Regions from separate parts of the Homo sapiens genome. Here region 2 is linked to region 1. The links are contacts of gene promoters, found by promoter capture Hi-C in human tissues and cell types (Jung and others, 2019). All regions are on one chromosome and are shown on one strand. Each heading gives the region's core, a stretch centred on a gene start or on the middle of the fragment in contact. The rest is flanking DNA. Distances are from core to core; before and after follow the strand shown.

Region 1 (4,597 bases), core at 990-3,489:
CATGTATTGTGTATCTGAGAAACCTCACAGCAGCCTGCAAGGTAGGCAGGCCAGGGGTGGTTATTGTCATGTTACACATCAGGAAACTGAGGCTCAGTGAGAAAGATTTGTCCACTGTCACACAGTTAGCAAGTGGCTGTCTGCTTTTTAATCTCAAGAGGAAGAGAAATTCAACATCTGTTCTGTTGCATGATTTTTCTCACCCCTAGGGCAAACTGTCATGAGACACTGTCCCCACAGGCCTGGGACAGGAGCCTAAACAGGGAAGATGGCTCAGTATAGGGGCTTCACCAAGCATGTGATGTGGAGCCCAGAACAGGAGAACTTAATTCACAGTCCTTTTTTTTTTTTTTTTTTTTTTTTGAGACAGAGTCTCACTCTGTCACCCGGGCTGGAGTGCAGTGGCGGATCTCAGCCCACTGTAGCCTCCGCCTCCCAGGTTCAAGCAATTCTCCTGCCGAAGCCTCCAGAGTAGCTGGGACTAAAGGCACCTGCCGCCACGCCCAGCTAATTTTTGTATTTTTAGTAGATATGGGGTTTCACCATGTTGGCCAGGATGGTCTCTCTCTCCAGACCTCATGATCTGCCCGCCTTGGCCTCCCAAAGTGTTGAGATTACAGGCGTGAACCACCGCGCCCAGCCAAGCACAGTCCTTTTAATTGTTGGGACTTAAAGACCTACAAACTGCATAATCGGTTTTGCCCTCATTCTGCGACCCCACAAAGCTACTCACCTAGCATGATTGCACCCACTGCACAGGCCTGCGCTGCCACTCGGGTGTGAATCAGGTGTATGGACATCTTGGTGGAACCACGAGACCTCAGCCGGTAAATCCTGTATGCTGCTACCACCAAGCAGCCTCCTAAGCCTGTGGGCAGAGAACACAGCCCCTGGGCCACAGCCACAATGCACAGCACTCCCCTGATGAGAGATACCTTACCAGGCAGGCTGGGCATCTGGATAAACAGCTGGTTTTATGCAGCATCTGGTGGCGGGGGGTGGGCGTTGCGGGGGACCTAGGGGGATCATTAGAATATTGAGTTGTTGCCGGGGCATGGTGGCTCACGCCTGTAATCCCAGCACTTTTGGGAGACTGAGGCAGGTGGATCACCTGAAGTTGGGAGTTTGAGACCAGCCTGACCAAAATGGAGAAACCCAGTCTCTACTAAAAGTACAAAATTAGCCGGGCGTGGTGGTGCATGCCTATAATCCCAACTACTCAGGAGGCTGATGCAGGAGAACCACTTGAACCCAGGAGGCAGGGGTTGTGGTGAACCGAGACTGTGCCATTGCACTCCAGCCTGGGCAACGAGTGAAACTCCATCTCAAAAATATATATATATATATTGAGTTGTTGCCCTTCAATGGCATTTTCAAAGTGGCTGCCTCCCTCCCGTGACACCCCTCCCCCATATACAAATAGCTGATCACCACCAGTGATGCCCCTCCCCCAGATACAAATAGCTGATCACCACGACACAGCCCCTCCCCACCAATTTGCTCCGCCCTGGGCCCTTGAGCCACACTGCTGGCTCCCACCTCCTGGTACAGCTGTTTTCCTACTCTACCAGGGCCATAAGGAAGGAAGCCCTGGGGGACCCCAAGGTGTTCTTCTGACCCTTCCCACTTTGGTGTTGGTGCTCCAGGTTCCTCATATCCCATGTACTCAGTTGGCTGCCACCTCCACCCATCCAGACGTCCTGATTTCATTGTAAGGGTTTGCCCCTTGGCACCTTTGCTGTTGTTTCCCTTGTTCCGTGAGTAGGACCACTTGAGTTTTCTGACCTCTGCTTCATTCTCTTTGGAGGGTACCAGGAGACATGACAGAGAAGGCCTCCTACTCGGCACCCCATTCCTTTCTTCACTTACCTATAGGCACCAGTGGAGATTCCCGAGTCTTCCTCAGGAGCTTCTCAGACACACAGTCTTCGTCGTCAGGTGGTACCCACCAGCGTCTGTTAGCAGACATAATCCTGGACCTGGATGTAAGCAGCTGAGACTCCTATGCTGCAGCCCCGTCCTAGAGAGAGGCACTCCACAATCAGAACTCTGATTCCTCAGTCTGGAGAGGAAAGGAAGGTTACCTGCTAAGACCCTCTCTCACCATGCCCCAACACAGCCTCTACTTGAAAAGATGTCCCTCCCAGGTATCCCATCTCAGGTGGCTGGGCCATTAGTGCCATTTCTCCGTCTCCATTTCCTACCATCTGCCTCTTCCCCAGCTCATTCTGTCTTCACTGCTTTCTCAGCTTCCCCTTCCCCCATCTGCATCCCTATGGGTGTGATCCTTGGGCCAAGAAAAACAGCTGGAAAAGTCCACAGATGGTGGTGGGAGAAACAGTCCTTGAGTGCTGGGGCCCCCGCTGGCCTTTGGTCTGTGATGGTTTCTCCTGTGGGAGCTACAGAGCAGGATCTGGCCCCAGGGAGCCAGAAATGTCCTAGACCAGATAGTGTAACAGCATTAGTTACCAAATTGCCAGAGATTATAATGATTGGACATTGATTTGCATGTAATTTAGCATATATTTTGCACATGAGTACTAAGGAACACATTCTGGTTCCTGAGCTGCTCCTGTTTTTCCAGGTCCATCTCTTTCCAGGCAGGTTCTTCACAATTACCAACTGGCTACCTTCATCCCTGGGCTGGAAACAAGGGTTCTGCCAATGGGATGCCTTCTTTTTGAGACGGAGTCTCGCTCTGTCGCCCAGGCCGGACTGCGGACTGCAGTGGCGCAATCTCGGCTCACTGCAAGCTCCGCTTCCCGGGTTCACGCCATTCTCCTGCCTCAGCCTCCCGAGTAGCTGGGACTACAGGCGCCCGCCACCGCGCCCGGCTAATTTTTTGTATTTTTAGTAGAGACGGGGTTTCACCTTGTTAGCCAGGATGGTCTCGATCTCCTGACCTCATGATCCACCTGCCTCGGCCTCCCAAAGTGCTGGGATTACAGGCGTGAGCCACCGCGCCCGGCCCTTTTTTGTTTTTTTGAGACGGAGTTTCGCTCTGTAGCCCAGGCTGGAGTGCAGTGGTGCCATCTCGGCTCACTGCAACCTCCGCCTCCCAGGTCCTGGTTGAAGCAATTCTGCCTCAGCCTCCCAAGTAGCTGGGATTACAGGTGTGTACCATGCCCAGCTAATTTTTTGTATTTTTTTAGTAGAGACGGGGTCTTACCCTGATAGCCAGGCTGGTCTTGAACTCCTGACCTCTTGATCCGCCCACCTCGGCTTCCCAAAGTGCAGGGATTACAGGTATGAGCCACCGTGCCCTGTCCAATGGGATACCTTCTAAGCCTAACCATACGGCAAACTCTCTTTTCTTTTTCTTCTTTTTTTTTTTTTTTAGGCAGGGTCTCACTTTGTCACTCAGGCTGGAGTGCAGTGTCAATCCCTGCAAGCTTGACCCTCCAGACTCAAGCAGTCCTTCCACCTCAGCCTCTCAAGTAGCTGGGACTACAGGTGCATGCTACCACGCTCAGCTAATTTTTGTATTTTTTGTAGAGACAGTTTTGCCATGTCGCCCAGCCAATCTTGAACTCCTGGTCTCAGGCGATCTGCCCACCTCAGCCTCCCAAAGTTCTGGGATTACAGGCATGAACCACTGTGCCTGCCCTTGAGTCAGCTTCTATCCTAGTTAGCCCTCCTCTCCTGGAGGAGCAAGGACTGGTGGCCCCCCAGGTCGTTGGCATGCTGGTGCTTACCCTAAGAGATGGCTAGAACGAGGAGAACGGGCGGCCAGGCCAGGGCTCAGCGTCTGCTGTTTTGAACCGACCAAAAGCTGAGATGGAGCTGCCACTATGGGGTCAGGGAAGCAGTGACTTGGGCTTTATGAAAACTTTGAAGTCAGGGATGGAGAGGGGAGGGGAAAGGACAGGGGATCGGTCTTAACCCCCAGTCTGCTGAGTCCCAAGCCAAAGCTCCAGGCACTGGAAAGTAAGGAAAGACCAAATGGAGGGGAGCCCCTAACTAGATTCAGTCTTTTAATTCCCATGGAATTAAGTGGCTGGATCAGAGACAGGCTTGATGAGGAGAACGGAGATGGAGATACAGGAACAAGGATGAGTAGAAAGCCTGGGTCCCCCAAGTTACACTCCCTCGGATACTCTTATGAACAATGTGGGATGTAAATAAAATACCCTAGTTGTGAGAGACAGACTCTCTAGGCTGTCTTTTGGTTTGGGATTTTTTTTTTTTTCCGAGATGGAGTCTTGCTCTGTCACCTAGGCTGGAGTGCAGTGGCACGATCTCGGCTCACTGTAACCTCCGCTCCCAGGTTCAAGTGATTCTCCTGCCTCAGCCTCCCGAGTAGCTGGGATTACAGGCATGTGCCACCATACCCAGCTAATTTTTTTATTTTTAGTAGAGGCGGGGTTTCACCATGTTGGCCGGGCTGGTCTCGAAATCCTGACCTTGTGATCCACCCGGCTCAGCCTCCCAAAGTGCTGGGATTACAAGCATGAGCCACCACACCCAGCTAGTTTTTGGGGTTTTTTGTTTTGTTTTGTTTTTGAGATGGGGTCTCCCTCTGTCACCCAGGCTGTGTGATCTTGGCTCACTGCAGCCTCATACTCCCAGGCTCAAGCAACCCTCCCATCTCAGCCTC
Region 2 (4,597 bases), core at 999-3,498, 180 kb before region 1:
GCTGACCACGTACTCCCCAGAGGGGCCGGAGAAAGGACAGCAAGGGGAGAGGAAGTGATGGGAGCTGAACAGGAAAGGGAGATAAGAGGCCCGGAGAGGATCTAGTCTTGGCTTCTGCTCCAAGTTAGGGAGGCGCACCACACTGTTGGCCTCCCCCTGCAACAGTAACTATCATTTTGGGGCACCTAGCGAGGGACTGGTGAAGGAGTAGTACTGCATGGTTCACATATTTTCAAGGCTCATTTCATCTTTACCATCATCCTGTGAAGTAGGTATTCTTTTTACTCATTTACACAGATGAGGTTTACACAAAAGGGGGCCCAAGGTCACATGGTGGGGAAGGTGGGGGGGCTACCAACCAAGGTGTGTCATCAGAGCCTATGGTTTTAACCCCCTTGTTCAACTGTGGGCTTCTCTTGGGCTTCCTGAGCAGCAGGTCTTGGGGAACAGGAAACCAAGCAGCTGAGATTGCCACCCCCCCACCGCCATTGTCCCTGCATCACTTTGAGTGCAAGTTTCCCGTGACACCCTTGGAATTGGTGTGATGTGTGTCTGGTTCTGTGCTTGGAAGTGTTTGGAGTGGGATGCTCCAGGGGTGCAGTCTCCTGCCCCAGCCAGGCCAGGGGTCTCTGGGCAGAGAAGCATTTTCCTATCTCTTACCCTTCTTGCTCTCCTGGAGCCCTCCCAGCTTTGTACACATGCACAGGGGTCACTGACCTAAAAAGAACGAGGAGCGTGTAGCCCACAGCAGCCTACGGATGTGCTCACTCACAGTGGGTGGGGGTGCTGCCCTTGACTGGCCTTGGCTTGTGGTGGGAGGTCCAGCCAGTGCCTTTTACACTGCAGGAGTGTAATACAGTTTTAGGCATAACTGCCCGCTCTGACTCCAGATCCAGGCCTTACCCTGGCTGTAGGTCTGCCTCTGATGGGAGAAGCAGCTTCTTTCTGCTGCTGCCGCCCCAACGTGAGCCTCTCATGGAGAGTTGGTAGAGACAGCCCACCTTGGCTCTTGTCAGCAGGGCTGGGCCTGCACCTGGCTCTTTGGGGAGAACCTATCTTTTGGGTGTTTTGTTTGTTTGTTTGTTTGTTTCTGAGAAATAACAACTTGAGATTTAAGATCAAGGTGAACTAAACCCTTAGTGCCTGCCCTGATCACCTCCTTGCCTCACACGGCCTGAGGCCTCTGCTTCAGCCCGCACAGTAGAGCCTCCCTCTCCCTGTGCTGTGGTGGTTCTCATTCGTGGAATCCTCACCTTCACCTTCTCATTTTCAAGTATCAAAAGACCTGCCCCCCACTTTTCAAGGCCAGCACAAGTGCCAGCCCTTCTACAAGGTCTTCCCTGATCAGCTATCCAGAAATAATTTTCTGCAGCCTTCTGTTCTGCACGGCATTGGAACCGGCCAGTGTGCAGGGTATGTGTGTCCTTGGAAGGCCTGCCCCTCTGCTGGGCGCTCTGGACGGTGGGGCCCAGCATATCATCAGTCCTCAGTGTGCGCTTGCAGAATTGAACTTGGGGGATTTCCAACCTCTCCCCAGGATACCGCTACGTGATTCTGGATATCCCCCTGCTGTTTGAGACCAAGAAGTTGCTCAAGTACATGAAGCACACCGTGGTAGTATACTGGTGAGTGTGTAGCATGCCCTGGCTGGAAGGGAGGACCATGGGGGTATCTGGGAAACAGCCCACATCATTTTGCACTTTGCCCTTTCCCCACGGGGCGGCCAAGAGGCATGGGGGTTTGGGCAGCAGTGCTCAGGGTCTGTAGAAACCAACCTTTGTGCCTGACGCGGATAGTCCTGGGGGCAGGTGTGGGAAGGGACAGCCCGCGGGCTTCTCTAGTGTTTGGGGAGCGCTCCCCCGCTGACCATTGCAGGCACTTCAGCCCAGATGCCTGGCCTCGCCCTGGGCCACTGTTACTCAGTGGCTCCTTCTTCCTCCTGTAGCACCTTTATTACTTTGCACAGTTTACCTCTCAGTGGGAGGTGGTCAGGACAGGTGTTGATATTCCTATTACTGAAGATAAAATTAAAGAGGGGGCAGTTACAGAATGTGTCCAGGGTCACCCTTTGGCAACACCTGTTACGAACAGAAGGTTTCGTGGAAGGGACTGTCAGCCCAGCTAAGGAAGGCACTTTGTTCTCAGAATTCCCCAGGACACGGAGCCAACCAGAATCCAGGTTTGACAAACAGGAGGATCAACCTGTGGGGGGAAAATGAGTCCCTGTCCCAGTGGGGTGAAAGTAGATGAGTCCGCAGGGTATCTCTGCTACCCAGAAGCTTCCCGGATGCCACCCACAAGTACAGCAGACACATAGGTGGGCACTTGGCTCTGCTGGTATTTTGGGCATAGGTTGGCCCTCAAGGGCCTAAGGCATTGGAGGCTCCCAGCACGCTGGAGGCGGAGCCTGTGGTGCTCAGTGCCCTGAAAATCCCCCTGCCTTTCCCCCTGGGTCCCCATGGGCTGTCGTTGAAAGCCCAGTCTGAATCCCTTGAGCCCAATGCAGGGACGCAGGCATCCTCTCAGCTCCTGCACTGGGCCGTGCTGCCTTATGTGAGTAAACCTGCAGCCTCTTTGGGTTCTTCATTCCCTGTTTGAGAGGCTAACTAAGGTCAGGCAAACCCCACGAAGACCTGGAATTCTCTTTGCCTTAGTAGCACGATTGGAGCTTTGTATTTAGGGATAAAAACATTTTTTTTAAAGGATCTTAGAGGCCGGGTGCAGTGGCTCACGCCTGTAATCCCAGCACTTTGGGAGGCCGAGGTGGGTGGATTACCTGAGGTCAGGAGTTCGAGACCAGCCTGGCCAACATGGTGAAACCCCATCTCTACTAAAAATATAAAAACTAGCCCGGTGTTGTGGCGGGCACCTGTAATCTCAGCCGCTTGGGAGGCTGAGGCCAGAGAATCGCTTGAACCCAGGAGGTGGAAGTTGCAGTGAGCAGAGATTGCACCATTGCACTCCAGCCTGGGCGACAAGAGTGAGCAAAACTCCATCTCAAAAAAAAGGCTGGGTGCAGTGGCTCATGCCTATAATCCCAGCACTTTGGGAGGCCGAGGCAGGTGGATCACCTGAGGTCAGGAGTTCGAGAGCGGCATGACCAACATGGAGAAACCCCATCTCTACTAAAAATACAAAAATTAGCCAGGCATGGTGGTGCATGCCTGTAATCCCAGCTACTTGGGAGGCTGAGGCAGGAGAATCACTTGAACCCAGGAGGCAGAGGTTGCAATGAGCCAAGATCGTACCATTGCACTCCAGCCTGGGCAACAAGAATGAAACTCCGTCTCAAAAAAAAAAAAAAAAAGGCCGGGTGTGGTGGCTCATACCTGTAATCCCAGCACTTTGGGAGGCCGAGGTGGGCGGATCATGAGGTCAGAAGATCGCGACCATCCTGGCTAACACGGTTAAACCCTGTCTCTACTAAAAATACAAAAAAAATTAGCTGGGCATCATGGTGGGCGCCTGTAGTCCCAGCTACTCGGGAGGCTGAGACAGGAGAATGGTGTGAACCTGGGAGGCGGAGCTTGGAGTGAGCTGAGATCGCACCACTGCACTCCAGCCTGGGCGACAGAGCGAGACTCCATCTCAAAAAAAAAAAAAGGATCTTAGAGTGTAGATGAGAAGACAGCAGGGGCCGACACCTGCATGTGCATTCACCAGATGACCCCGCGCCCACCTCTGGCCATTTGTCCTTCCTGTGCTTTGCTTTTTTTTTTTTTTTTTAAATTGAGATGGAGTCTCACTCTGTCACCCAAGGTGGAGTACAGTGGCGCGATCTCAGCTCACTGCAACCTCTGCCTCCCAGGTTCAAGTGATTCTCCTGCCTCAGCCTCCTGATTAGCTGGGATTACAGGCGCACGCCACCATGCCCGGCTAAGTTTTGTATTTTTAGTAGAGACAGGGTTTCACCATGTTGGTCAGGCTGGTCTTGAACTCCTGACCTTGTGATCTACCTGTCTCGGCCTCCCAAAGTGCTGGGATTACAGGCATGAGCCACTGCGCCCGGCCCTTCCTGTGCTGTTCTTTGAGGTTGGTCTGTTTGCCGAGAGCAGAGGTGGCCATGGGTTTTGGTGGGTGAGTGGGGCTTTGTTGATTGTGTGTGCTCTCCAGGAGACCTTCAGCCCCACTCACCGGCCAGAGGAGCCTTTGCCAGAGTCCTGGGTGCCACTCATGCCCTGCTTTCAGTGGGTGTGGGTGTATAACTCTTGAGAGATGCCAGAGAGGTGGTGATGCTTTTCACCAAAGGGATCTAGGCTTTACAAAAATAAGGACTCCCTTGTGGATTTCTTTAACTGAAAGACTACCCCTGGTGCATTTGAAATTACTTAGGACATCTCCTGAAGTGTGATTATACCAAAACATGATTTCATGCTGGTTTCTTTTTTTTGAGACAGGGCTCAGGCTAGAGTGCAGTGGCACAATCACAGCTAACTATAGCCTCAAACTCCTGGGCTCAAGCAGTCTTCCACCTCAGCCTCTTGAGTAGCTGGGATTGCAGGCATGCAGCATCACATCTGACTAATTTTTTTATTTTTTGTAGAGATTGGGTCTTGCTGTGTGGCCCAGGCTGGTCTCAAGCTCCTGGGCTCAATGA

The links. The method cuts DNA at HindIII sites, captures the fragments that hold promoters and counts their contacts. A contact is called where the count stands out against the background at its distance.
Region 2: a fragment that was not itself captured here is called in contact with the fragment with the promoter of HIGD1B in region 1 in 1 of the 25 tissues and cell types used here (heart right ventricle).

The regions. Positions count from the first base shown.
Region 1 is chr17:44,845,525-44,850,121 of GRCh38, reverse strand. It overlaps HIGD1B (HIG1 hypoxia inducible domain family member 1B), which reads right to left and starts at 2,239. Exons shown (of 3, transcript NM_016438.4): 1 at 1,870-2,239; 2 at 734-868. The coding sequence starts at 1,969. It overlaps EFTUD2 (elongation factor Tu GTP binding domain containing 2), which reads left to right. Exons shown (of 28, transcript NM_004247.4): 28 at 1-174. The HindIII fragment of the contact is 5,766 bases long and covers 505-4,597 here.
Region 2 is chr17:45,027,120-45,031,716 of GRCh38, reverse strand. It overlaps DCAKD (dephospho-CoA kinase domain containing), which reads left to right. Exons shown (of 5, transcript NM_001288655.2): 4 at 1,538-1,625. Among named protein-coding and RNA genes, the nearest start is that of DCAKD, 22 kb to the left of the region's middle. RefSeq lists an enhancer at 1,161-1,210. The HindIII fragment of the contact is 7,935 bases long and covers 1-4,597 here.